3 separate regions of the Homo sapiens genome follow, and regions 2 and 3 are each linked to region 1. Evidence: promoter capture Hi-C in human tissues and cell types (Jung and others, 2019). All regions are on one chromosome and are shown on one strand. The core of a region is centred on a gene start or on the middle of the fragment in contact, and the rest is flanking DNA. Distances in the headings are between cores, read along the strand shown. Region 1 holds the start of AIFM2 (AIF family member 2). Region 2 overlaps MACROH2A2 (macroH2A.2 histone). Region 3 overlaps MACROH2A2 (macroH2A.2 histone).

The links. The method cuts DNA at HindIII sites, captures the fragments that hold promoters and counts their contacts. A contact is called where the count stands out against the background at its distance.
Region 2: a fragment that was not itself captured here is called in contact with the fragment with the promoter of AIFM2 in region 1 in 1 of the 25 tissues and cell types used here (H1 embryonic stem cells).
Region 3: a contact is called between a fragment that was not itself captured here and the fragment with the promoter of AIFM2 in region 1, in 1 of the 25 tissues and cell types used here (IMR-90 fibroblasts).

The regions. Positions count from the first base shown.
Region 1 is chr10:70,129,682-70,134,074 of GRCh38, forward strand. It overlaps AIFM2 (AIF family member 2), which reads right to left and starts at 3,144. Exons shown (of 9, transcript NM_032797.6): 1 at 3,053-3,144. RefSeq lists an enhancer at 2,935-3,435 and silencers at 2,957-3,166, 2,999-3,318. The HindIII fragment of the contact is 11,395 bases long and covers 1-4,393 here.
Region 2 is chr10:70,069,801-70,074,193 of GRCh38, forward strand. All of the region lies in intron 1 of MACROH2A2 (macroH2A.2 histone), which reads left to right. Among named protein-coding and RNA genes, the nearest start is that of MACROH2A2, 19 kb to the left of the region's middle. RefSeq lists an enhancer at 1,259-1,758. The HindIII fragment of the contact is 6,286 bases long and covers 1-4,393 here.
Region 3 is chr10:70,094,214-70,098,606 of GRCh38, forward strand. MACROH2A2 (macroH2A.2 histone) reads left to right here. Exons shown (of 9, transcript NM_018649.3): 6 at 1,441-1,540. Among named protein-coding and RNA genes, the nearest start is that of AIFM2, 36 kb to the right of the region's middle. The HindIII fragment of the contact is 4,428 bases long and covers 1-3,997 here.

The DNA.
Region 1 (4,393 bases), core at 1,894-4,393:
CTTAAGCTTTTGTATTGTTTGAATTTTTTTCAAACAAGCATATGTCATTTTTGCAGAAATAATGTCTTTAATAATAGGACAGACCGCTTACCATCTAATTTTTTAATCAAAATAGAATTCACATATACAATTTACCACTTAAGATGTAAGTTCACAGTGAGCTATGATTGCACCACTGCACTCCAGCCTAGATGAGACCCCATCTTTTAAAAAAAAAAAATGAGATGTAGGCTGACTCACACCTCTAATCCCAACACTTTGGGAGGCCAATGCAGGCAGATTGCTTGAGCTCCGGAGTTCCAGACCAGCCTGGGCAATATGGTGAAACCCCATCTCTACAAAAAATACAAAAATTAGCCAGGCATGGTGGCACATGCCTGTGGTCCCTGATATCAGGAGGCTGAGGTGGGAGGATCGCTTGAGCCTAGGAGGTCGAGGTTGCAGTGAGGCATGATCATGCCACTGCACTCTAGCCTGGGCGCCAGAGCAAGACTCTGTCTCAAAAAAAAATTTTTTTTAATTTAAATTTCAAAAAAAGATGTAAGTTCAGTGGGTTTTAGTGTATTCACCAGGTTGTGCAACCATCACAACTATCTAATTCCAGAACACTTCCATCACCCCCAAAATAAATCCTGTACCCCACCTACCCTAGCCCTGGGTAGCTACTAATGTTCTTTCTGTCTCTATAGATTTGTCTGTTCTAGACAATTCATGTAGATGGAATTATACACTATGTGGCTTTTTGTTTGCGACGTCTTCCACTGATCATCATGTTTTCAAGGTTCATCCGAGTTGTAGCATGTTATCAGTGCTTCATTCCTTTTCCTGGCTGAAAAACAGTCCATTACTGGTGTATGAATAGACCACATTTTGTTTATCCACTCATCAGCTGACGGGCACTTGGGTTGTTTCCACCTTTTGACTATGTGAATAACGCCACTATGAACATTTGTGTACAGGTTTTTGTGTGAACCAGTCTTCAGTCCTCTTTAGTATATATTTAGGTATGGAATTGCTGGGTCATATGGTAACTTGAAGTTTAACTTTTTGAGGAACTGCTAAATCCACCATCTGATTTTGAACTGAACACCAAAGCCCCAGTGGGAATCACAGAGAATCTTAACTATGTCTGTCTAGGTTCAAGAATGTTAGCTTAAAAGAAGGCCTAAGAGAGCGGAACAAACCCTGATTGTCCAGGAACCCCTCAGTAACTTTACCTTTGCTCCCTGCCACAACACACATACACACAGACACACACACACACAATCTGATTTACACAAAAATTTGCTCAGTCAATCCTGTTTTCTCTGCCAAGAGCATCCACCCTGATCTCAAGGGTATTATTCCACAATAAGCAGCCCATAGGACTACTGAAAAACCAGGAAGTTACATTTATGCCAAAGCTGTTCAGAGGTTGTGCCTCAGAAGACACACAGCAGGAACCGTGTGGGCTCTGATCAAAGCAAGAATGTCATCCCAGAGTTGCTCCAGTATTGCTTCACAAATATTACAAATAAAACACGATGCTTTTTGAGTCGTCATGGCTCACACAAAGGGTAGGTTTCAACATCAGCCTCTGGAGAGCCACATTCCCAGAGTGGCCGTCCCGGATAAGAAGGCCACTACAGCACGACTCACAGCACCATGGAGGTTTCCTCCACCTGCGGGACACAGCAGGATGGAGACGGTTGGGCGGCCTCCCTTCCTGGGACACTCCATGGCCAGCCCCTCAGGGACTACTTGAAGAACAGAACCCCCAAAAGACCAGTTTCTGAAAAGGGACTCAAAGTCTAAGGGAGGCAGCCTCCTTTTATCCCCAGGGGAGGGCAGCTCTGGGGCAGACAGGTTCATCTGGATGTCATATTCACTCCCGCACAGAAAACCTAGGCCAAGCAATTTGTCCATCCTCCTCAGAGCCAGTTTTGTGGTCCCCATGGTCTGCCCACCACCTGTACCTGGACGCTGGCTTCATTTGGCCACCAGACAAAAGTCAGGCTGGCCCTGGAGTCCACCGGCCTGCCCAGCCCATCACTTCTGGGCTAGGTAGTGCTAAGCCTGCCCAGCCCACCCTGGCTGGGGCTCAGTGCCCTCTTCTTGGTGACACACTGTGCTCCTTGGAGAACTCCTCTCTAGGTGCTGGGGTGAGGGCAGGTGTGATCTGAGATCCCGGGGCTCTCTGGCAGGTGCATGCACGCACACTGGAACCTGATACAGGCTTTTGAACACAGGTGCACAGTCCAGAAACCTGCAAGTCCCATCCCAAACTATATCTGACTCTCTGCCCTATGCCTGTCCTCCTACAGGATCATCAGCCCCCAAGAGACCTCACCACTCCCCATCCTCACCTTAAATTCCAGGGTCAAAAAGACTCTCCTTGTAGGGAAAGGTAGGGTGTGTTGATCAGGTGGTGTTGGAAGGAGAGCCCCAATATAGGCCACTAATTCAGTTCCAGGTGGACTGCACGCGTCCCATCAGAGTTAGTTTACTCACCGCTGGTCTTTGTCCCTGCAGCACCCAGGGCTTCGGGAAGGGAGAAGCAGACTTCCTAGTGCTGCACCCCCCAGCTCCCCCGAGCCTATGGGCACTGGGTTGACTCCAGTTTCTTTCCTCTTAGAGACTGAGGTTTCTCCCTTTCCTCTCACACCTGCTTCTGTCCGGACCGGCCGCTTCTACCCAGCGGACCCTCGGACGGTCCTCGCAAGATCCGGGTTACACCCGCCCCGTGTTCCCTCTTCCCCGGTTCGCCCTTCCCGGCCTAAGCCCATCTTCCTTAGGAAAACTTAGCAGGGATTTAGGGGCCAAACCAGGAGGGTGGAGTTTTCTTTGCCCTCGGCCAGGAGCACATCTCCCTGTTGCGTTTTTTGGGGGAGACAGAGAGGGGCGGGCCTGAGTCGAGTATCCCTCTCCTCGCAGCGCCACAACTGCGCGCACCGACCTCCCCACGCCAGACGCGGCGTGAGCCAGGCCTCTAATCCGCTCGCCCCTCTTCCGGGTCCCGGTCCCGCCCGGGGCGCCCGGGGTCTCGAGAGCCCGCCTGGCGGCGCGATCTCACCTGTCGGCCGCGCCCGCGCGCTCTCGCTCCGGCTCCCGCTCCCGCTCCCGCTCCCGCTTGGTCGTCTTCCCGAGTTACTGACCCGAGGCGCTCCCGGGCGGGGCGTGACTCAGCACTCGTGCTGGTCCCCGACCCCGCGGCAACGCCCCGGCCAGGCCCCGGAAACGGTCCTGGCACGCTGGGGCTGGTCTCCGAACGGCCCGCCGGACTAACCTTGACCCTGAGCGAACGGCCTTGAACTTTGAAACAAATGCTCCCATGGCCAGATGTCGCCTCTCCGGCTCCTGCCAGCACCCGCGCCCCAGTCCTGCCGAGCCATTCAGACTTGGTTTAAAGTGTCCTTTCAGCATACTTTAAAGCAAAAAAGAGAGAGAGAGAGAGAGAGAGAGAGAGAGAGAGAGAGAGAGAGAGAGAGAGAGAGAGAAGGAAGGAAGGAAAACAAGCATCCCCCTGTTCCTCTGATTTTCTCGAGGACACCTTTAAAGCCACTGGAACCTTGGAGAGTGGGGTTCCCCTCACACGTTGGGCGCACTGCCAACATCCTTCCTTCAGACATACACATAATAATTCCGCAAACCCTGTTGAGCTCCTACATTTGCCAGGCACTGTGCTAGGCGTTGGAGGGATAACTTGGAGAGAAAACTGACAAGGTTCCTGCTTTCACGGAGGCGACAGTCTGGGAAAAGACAGATATTAAACACACCACCAAAAAATACATGTATAGAGAAAACAAAAACCATGTATCACCAACTGCAGTAAGAAAGATTGGGCATGGCCAGGCACGGTGGCTCATGCCTACAGTCCCAGCACTTAGGGAGGCCAAGGCGGGAGGATCGTTTGAGCCCAGGAGTTGGAGACCAGCCTGGGCAACATAGCGAGACCTACAAAAATTAGCCGGGCTTGTTGGTGCACACCTGTAGTCCCAGCTTCTCGGGAAGCTGAGGTGGGAGGATTGCTTGAGCCCAGGAGTTTGAGGCTACAGTGAACCATGATCATTCCACTGCACTCCAGCCTAGGTGACTGTGAGATTCTGTCTCAAAAAAAAAATAATAATAATAATAATAATAAATGAAATGAAATGAAAAAATAAAAAAGAAAGACTGAGGGCAAAGGAAGGGTGCAAATACTTCTCTCCAAGGATGAGAAAGAGGTAGATTTAGGTAAAGAGGAAGGAAGTGTGGTCTGGATGTGCAAAGACCCACAGGCAGGACAATGACCTGGAAGGCAGTGTATTGCCAGCTCAAATCAGACCAAGCTAACTCAGCGAAAGATAAGCCATCTCCATCTACTTACTGCAAATATTAGCACCTACTTTAAGAGTTGTGGATAAGGGCCAGGCAC
Region 2 (4,393 bases), core at 588-3,087, 61 kb before region 1:
ATGTGGATAAAAACCCATTCAAGTTTTTGACTCCTGACTTCCCAAGACGGAATAGAGTTGGAGGAAAGGGTGGCCCGGGAAAGAAGGAAGTTCAGGGTTATAATTTATCATAACTCCAGGCATAATCCAGCACAGGCTTTGGGGAGAGGTGGTCTTTAGAAAGCAGGGTCTTCTCTGGAGTGGCCCCAGAGGCTCAGCACTTCCTCCCGTCGGTGGGCTCTGGTAGATGTAACATGTCAGCTCCATAAGCCCCTCCTTGCTTCCCCTAGGGATTCCTGGATGTGCTCTAATTCTTACTGTCCGTGTCCAGGGACCTCACAGCCCTGAGTCCCCAGGAGGGCCTGGGAGATAGGTGCCTGGCTGCTTAAATTCCGCACAAGACCTGAAAAGATGGGTTTGGCAGGCATAGAGGACTCTCCAGTCCTGCTTAAAATACATGCATAAGTCAGTCCATCTCACACTTAGACTTCAGATGGAGCTGCATCCCCCACCCAGGGGGATTTCCTCTAAGGCCCTCACTTAGAGGGAAGTCTGGAAGCCACAGAGGGAAAAACTTATTATAAAGTACCATGTTCAGGATGATTCTTACATTTAGGTACTTTTTTACAATGTGCAGGTGGTATGTTTCTCTACTTGTTCCTACTTTGATTTTCCTTACTTGGCTATTTTATCTTCATGAGTGTTGAGTTTTGTTTGTTTGTTTGTTTTTGAGACGGAGTTTCGCTGTCGTTGCCCAGCAGGAGTGCAATGGTACAATCTCGGTTCACTGCAACCTCCTCCTCCTGGGTTCAAGTGATTCTTTTGCCTCAGCCTCCAGAGTAGCTGGAATTACAGGCACCCGCCACCACGCCCGGCTAATATTCTGTATTTTTAGTAGAGTCGGGGTTTCATCATGTTGCCCAGGCTCAAACTCCTGACCTCAGGTGATCCACCCACCTTAGCCTCCCAAAATGTAGGGATTACAGGCGTAAGCCACCACGCTTGGCCTCTTCCTGAGTGTTTTAGGCATCCGTCCCCTAAAGTCACTTGCTTTTCTTATACTCCTAGTCCTAAGTTCCAATTTTTAGGGCAGTTTGTGACTTCTCTTGGCAGCTAATAGTAGGAAAGTCCCTAAATGGCTTTATCCTGCACACCTAGTCATTCTCTGGCTGTTTTGAGGAAAGTGTGTGTGTGTGTGTGTGTGTCTGTGTGCATGTGCATGTGTGTGTGTGTGTGAGCGCGTGCATGTATGCGTGTGCACGTGCATGCGTGTGTGGGCGCGCGTGTGCATGTGCATGAGTGTGTGTGTGTGTGTGCGCGTGTGCACAGGGGGTGTCCCTGCCCTTGTGGTGTTTGTACTTCATGCAGCATTCTCTGGTGGAAGCATGGTAGGGAGAGATTAAGACCAGCCAGCACACACCATATTCACAGAGCACGTCCACCCTGTGATGGGCTTTTCAGGTGGTTTCTTGACAACCAGACTTAGTAATCATCCTCCAATCCCACTTACCATTAACTGAGAAAAGCACATAATTGGCTTAGGAGAGTCACTAATGCACCTTTATGAGCCTGTGTAGGCTCTTAAGTCTTTAGAACCGACTGCTTAAAGAGCCTAAGCTTCTCTACCAAAATCATTGAAAAGTGCCTTTCAGAAAAATCAGGATGTTTAAGAGCAGAACAACTGTAAGGATGTTAGCCACCTGCCCTGTTTTACAGAGAAGGCCACTGAGGTCCAAATAAATAACATATGAAGCTCACATAACTACAGTCATGCATCACTTAACGAAAGGGGTACGTTCTGAGAAATGCATCGTTAGGTGATTTTGTCATTGTGCAAACAGCATAGAGTGGACTTCACAAACCTAGATGGTACAGCCTCCTGTACACCTAGGCTATAATCCTATGATCTGTTGCTTCTGGGCTACAAACCTGCTCAACATCTTACCATACTGAATACTGCAGGCAATGGTGATGGTAAGTTTTTGTGTCTCTAAACTTAGAAAAGGACAGTAAAATACAGTATAAAATGTAAACAGCAGTACACATGTATAGGGCACTTGCCGTGAATAGAGCTTGCAGGACTAGAAGTACTCTGGGTGAGTGAGTGAGTGGTGAGTGAATGTGAAGGCCCGGGACATTATTGTACACTACTGTAGACTTTATACCGTACATGTTAGCTACACTACATTTAAAAGAGAATATTTTCCTTAATAATAAATTAACCTTACCCAATAATAAATTTTCCAATAAATTATCCAATAATAAATTAACCTTAGCTTACTGTAATTTTTTTTACTTTATAAACTTTTTAACCTTTTTAAACTTTTTGACTCTTTTGTAATAACACTTAGCTTAAAACACAAATACATTGCACAGCTACTACACATATTTTCCTTCTTTATAGCCTTACTCTATAAGCATTTTTCTTTTTTTATTTTATTATTATTATACTTTAAGTTTATAAGCATTTTTCTATTAAAATTTTTTTTAACTTTTTAAACTTCTGTTAAAAAAAATAAGACACATACACATTAGCCTAGGCCTACACAGAGTCAGGGTCATCAATAACACTGTCTTCCACCTTCACATCTTGTCCACTGGAAAGTCTTTAGGGACAATAACACGCACGGAGCTGTCATCTCCTGTAATAATAATGCCTCCTTCTGGAATACCTCCTGAAGGATCCATTTAAGGCTGGTTTACAGTTTACTTTGTTTTTAATAAGTAGAAGGAGTACCAGTAACATCGTCATTTGTTATCAAGTATTATATACTATACATAATTATATGTGCTAGACTTTTATATGACTGGCAGCACAGTAGGTTTGTTTACATCAGCATCACCACAAACACATGAGTAAGGCATTGTGCTACACCGTTAGGATGTCACTAGGTTGGCCAGGTGTGGTGGCTCACACCTGTAATCCCACCACTTTGGGAGGCTGAGGAAGATGGATCACTTGAGGTCAGGAGTTTGAGACCACCCTGGCCAACATGGTGAAACCTCGTCTCTACTAAAAATACAAAAATTAGCCAGGCATGGTGGTGCACACCGATAGTCCCAGCTACTTGGGAGGCTGAGGCAGGAGAATCGTTTGAACCCCAGAGGCAGAAGTTGCAATGAGCCGAGATTGCACCACTGCACTCCAGCCTAGGGGACAGAGCAAGACTCCTTCCCAAACAACAACAACAACAACAAAAAGATGTCACTAGGGCATAGGAATTTTTCAGCTCCATTATGATCATACAGGACCACCGTCATATGCGGTCATTGTGGGGTGCATGACTGTAGTTATGTAGAAGCGGCGCTATGCCCAGGACTTTCTGTTCCGCAGTCCTGGGCTCCTTCCACTATAGCAAGAGCCACCTCCATTTAGAGCACCACAACCCAGCTAGCAAACACGTGCTATGTGAGGACAGGGACCACTTAGCAATGCTGTCTGTTTCCCCTCTTTCCTGCGACAGGGCTGACTAACAGCAGGCCCTCCATACATTTACCTAACACATAGTTGCTTGCTTCCTCAAAGAGAAAACCCCTACAAGTGGATTTATGAGAGTGAGCAGCCACAGACAGCAGCAGCACGGCAAAGGTGGGAGATCTTGTTTCTTCCAGATGAAGAAACAACGTGATAAAACAACATGGCAACATTGCCTGATCTCTGGGCCTTGCAGTCAAAGAGATAATAGTCTAAGGCACTTCTCTCATCTTTGCTTGTACCTAACTGATGAATAGCTACATCCTTTGGTGGCAAAACGACATATGAAGTATAAAATAGGGGAGTAGTAAGTACATATGAGCATTTTAAATAATGTATATGAAGTATATACTAAAATGCCCCAAACTTGAATCATTCACCTCGGGGACAGGTGAGAGTTGAGAAAGGGCTTTGTTGCTAATTTCAGAGCTTTTAATATAGTCTCCTTGGTCGTAATGGAGTTATCAGATGCTTTAGAAAATTGAAATCTGTTCACTCTTTCACCTAGATTAAGTAAATCCTGGTTTTGTATCTATTTCATATTAACCAAGCATTCATTTAATATCTTCTTCTGTCATATTTAGGGACTTTCTTGGGCCCTCCTTTCCTTTGCCATCTTGCCTGTTGGTATGATGACCTAACCAGGATCAATGGATAGAACCAATTTCAATTTGTTCTGACTTTCTCATTTTTCATCTCCAGAGGAAACGGCCCCTGAGAACGCCATTGACCTTGGGGAAGAGAGCTTTGATATATTAACACATTTCCTAGAAAATGTCATTTTCCTTTTCTTTGCTCCTGACCGTTTGTCCCTTGTAATTTGCTTTTACTTACTGAAGATTATATTCCATTTGTCGGTTACGGTACCCTGTCAACCAGCAGACCAAGCCTACCCAAGATCTACTACAATTTTCTAGATTGTGGGTGGGCTTACAAAGA
Region 3 (4,393 bases), core at 534-3,033, 37 kb before region 1:
ACATGGTTCAATGTAATTTATCAAAGAAAGAAAATAGAAATATATGTTTCCCAAATATCCTTGGTATTAGAAATGAATTATTTGCCAATAATTCAGTCTGCCTGCCTTCCTAGGCTTTAGAAAGTAAACAAACAGGGCTATGCATTTGAACAGTCTTCAGCAACACAACAGCAGCCCAACCAGACATGCAAATAATTCATTCCTACAAGTGTAAAGTTTACTGAGCAGACAATTTATCTACCAAGTCAACTGGGGCTGAAATAAGACACCCAAGGAAAGAGTCAGTTAATCATATCTCTGGTAGCTGAATGTTTCCATCTTGACAACACAGTAAGCCTCCATTCAAAGAATTGGGAAGAGTATGTTCTAAGAAGAGCATCGGTGTGGCTGGTTGCTAATTCGTCACTGATGAAAGCAGGGAAACAAAGAGGTGGAATTTATGTCCCCTCTCTGGCCTGTTCACTGTTACATGACGATTAGCTTTCTCTCACTTAGCTAAGGCAACATAAAGGTCTTGCTCACATGGGCCAACAATAGAGAATGCCCTCCATTCCACTCTACTGTGAACACATAGGATAGCAATTCCCAATGGTAGCCCCAAGACTGTGGTCTCCAAAGGGCAAGGGAGCCAGACACCCCCAGGTCAGAATCCCAGAGCCCATTACTTCTCTCCAGCAAGGTTATTGGCTTCAGAGCCCTGCCCCACAGATTTTGTGTTCTTCTAGGGAGAATGCAGGATGCTGAGGGGAGAAGAGAGAGCAAGCCCTGGGCTTCCTTGCAGGAGCTTCTCAGAAGATGCATCACTGAAAACTAAGGCCACCAGGGTTGGGAACCAAAGGCATGAGCTGTAAGGGAAAGAAAGAAAGGAGAGGGGGCCAGGCGCGGTGGCTCACGCCTGTAATCCCAGCACTTTGGGAGGCAGAGGCGGGTGGATCAAGAGGTCGGGAGATCAAGATCATCCTGGCTAACACGATGAAACTCCGTCTCTACTAAAAATACAAAAAATTAGCTGGGCATGGTGGCGGGCGCCTGTAGTCCCAGCTACTCAGGAGGCTGAGGCAGGAGAATGGCGTGAACCTGGGAGGCAGAGCTTGCAGTGAGCCGAGATCACGCCACTGCACTCCAGCCTGGGAGACAGAGTGAGACTCCGTCTCAAAAAAAAAAAAAAAAAGAGAGGGGAGGCCCTGTTCCTGTTCCAGGGAAGAAGAAATGGATTTGTTGCATGCTGCCAGCCCCAGAGTGGAAAGCAAATCCACTGAGCTCAAAGAGCTTATTGCAAGCCAAACACCTGGGAAACTGGAGGTTGTCACTCTCTATGCAGCCCCTATGTTGACATTGGGTATGAATAATTAAAGAGAATTAATGAATGCAAGTAAAATATGAGATTTTTCAACAGAATTTTATCTTTTCCACATTCACCACCTTTTCTTCCTAATGCAGCTGTCCTTAACCCAGAGTGACATCAGCCATATTGGCTCCATGAGAGTGGAGGGCATTGTCCACCCAACCACAGCCGAAATTGACCTCAAAGAAGATATAGGTAAGGTCCTGAGACTTCAGTAGAAGTGCCATAGAATAGGCCACTGTTCAGGCAAGTTCTTGTGAAGCTGATCATTGTCAACTGGCTGTCCCTCCGCTGGGGTCCCATGTCAAGCTCTGTCTTTATGTGTAGTTGAACAGTTTCACTAGAGAGAAGCTAACTTTGTTTTAATTCTGCATATATTTTTGAAATTTTTATTGGGGTATTGTGTAAAAGCAAATCATTAGCATAGAGCTTGATGAATTTTTCTCAAAGTGAACCCCACTTTGCAACCAGCACCAAGATCCTGAAGCAGACCCTTACCAGCACCCCAGAAGTCTCCCTCAGCCCCACTCCCAGTCAGTATTTCCTCCAAGGGTAACCACTGTCCTTTCTTATCAAAGCAGAGATGGGTTTCATCTGTCTTGAATTTTGTAAAAATGAAATCTTGTCCTCTTCTGGGTCCGACTCCTTTTGCTCAACTTAGTATTGTGAAATCTATCCATGTCGTTGAGTATGCTTGTATTCATTCATTTTCCTTGCTCTGTAGTATTACACTCTATAAATATATGACAGTTTATTGATCTATTCTACCACTGATGACATTTGGGGTAGTTTCCAGTTTGAGCTATAGTGAATAGTGCTACTATAAATATTGTTGTACATGTTTACATATATCGTAAGCTTAAATATTGAGAGTGCTATTGATAAAAGGGAAATGGACATCTAGAAAAAAATTAGATTGTCCATTAAGCTATGAGCATTGAGTTATTTTTGCCTGTGGTTTGCCACCTGTCCCACGAGTGGCAGAGGGAGCTGTTAATAGCCAGGGTGGAGGAGCTTGGGAGGGTAAGCTGTTATGGGCGCTGGAAATAACAGCATGCTAACAGTCCCCATCCCATCCATTTTTACCAAGCAGAACTGCCTTAAACTCTCCACGGAAAGGGTAAAGTGAGCAAAGAAGGGGCTTTGTCTCTAGGGTACAGGGCTTGCCTGTGAGGGAGGCAATTTGAGGTAGATGCTAGTAGTTCAGCCCTGGCTGGTAGCACCAGGGGCCCCAGGCAGCTGGACTCACTCAGGGCTTCCTCCTGGCATCAGAGGCCACTTGCTGTGCTGAAAAGGAGATAGGACAGCCCTGGGAAAAGTCAGCATTACAGAGAAACAGGTCTCCTTCCACTCTCCATGGAAGGACGCCCTCTAGTAGCCTTCATCTGGAGCTCTTTTAATAGGTGTCCTGCCTCTCACTGACACATTGCAGTGTTCATACTTTACACATTTCTATAGTAATGAAATTTTTATGTAAGAAAAATAATATGCTTCTTTTTTTTAATTGGCATGGTGGCAGAGTAGAAAGAGCACTGGTCTGGGAGCAAAAATTCACGCTCAGATCCCAGCAGTGGATTCTAAGGCCAACCGCTTCAGGGTCTTGGGAGGAGAAATGGGCTAAAGGCAGTCAGGTGGTTAAGAGGGCAGGTTCCAGGTCGGCCTGCCTGGACTGTCCCAGCTTTTCTGAATTGCTTCCTAGCTGACCTTTGGCAGGTTTCTAAACCTCCCTGAACCTCCGTTTCCTCCTCTGTAAGGGAGGATAGCAATAGTACCTGTCCCATAGGGGTGCTGTGATGGGGCTTAGCACAGTGCTGGGCTCCTAGGCAGTTAGTAATTGACAGTGGTTTTATTGCTGCTGTGTTAGGAGGAGTCCCTCCCATTACGATTCCATTTTCCACCACCATCACCCAAACTAATCATCCCAGCAGCCAAGGCCCTGTCTTACTCTTTTCAAAACATTATGTTATTATGGGAAAAGTCAAGCATACACAAAAAATAACAGAAAAGTATAATGAAACCCTATGCAATCAGATGCAATAATCACCACCCATGGCCACCTTTGTTTCAGCTCTTACCCCCTCCACATACTTCCAGACATCATTTTATCTATGAATATTTCACAATGACTTGTAACAGATAAGGGCTGTTTACTAACAACACAGCCACAATACCATTATTGTACCCTTAAAAAGATAGCAATATCAACAAATTACCAGTGTTCCAATTCCAGTTACATCATAAATGTCAAGTTTCTTAAACATTTGTTTAAGCCAGGCACAGTGGCACACTCCTGTAGTCCCAGCTACTTGGGAAGCTGAGGCAGGAGGATCGCTTGAGCCCAGGAGTTTGAGACCAGCCTGGACAATATAAGTGGGACCCTCATCTCTTATAAAAAAGGGGGGCCCGAGTACGGTGGCTCACACCTGTAATCCCAGCACTTTGGGAGGCTGAGGTGGGCGGACCACTTGAGCTCAGAAGTTCCAGACCAACCTGGGCACATGGCAAAACCCCATCTCTACAAAAAATACAAAAATTAGCCAGGCTTGGTGGCATATGCCTGTGCTCCCAGCTAAGGTGGGAGGCTGGGGTGGGAGGATCACTTAAGCCCAGGAGTTCTAGGCTGCAGTGAACTGTGATCATACCACTACACTCCAGCCTGGGCCACAGAGTGCACAGAGTGAGACCATGTCAAGAAATTAAGAAAGGAAAGAAAGAAAAAGAGAGAGAGAGAGGGAGGGAGGGAGGGAAAGAAAAAGAGAGAAAGAGAGAGGCAGAGGGAGAGAGAGAGAGAAAGGAAGGAAGGGAAGGTAGAGAAGGAAGGAGGGAGGGAAGGAGGGGGAGGGGGAGAGAGAAAGGAAGAAAGGAAAGAAAGAAAATTTGTTTATTTGATTTCGGATCCAAATCAGTCCACGCACTGCAGTTGGTTGATGAGTCTCTTATACCATAGGTTCCTCCTTCATCTCTTTCTTATTTCTTTGCAATTCATTTGTTGAGGAAGCTGGGCCATTTGTCCTATAGGGTTTCATGCAGTCCGGATTTTGTTGATTA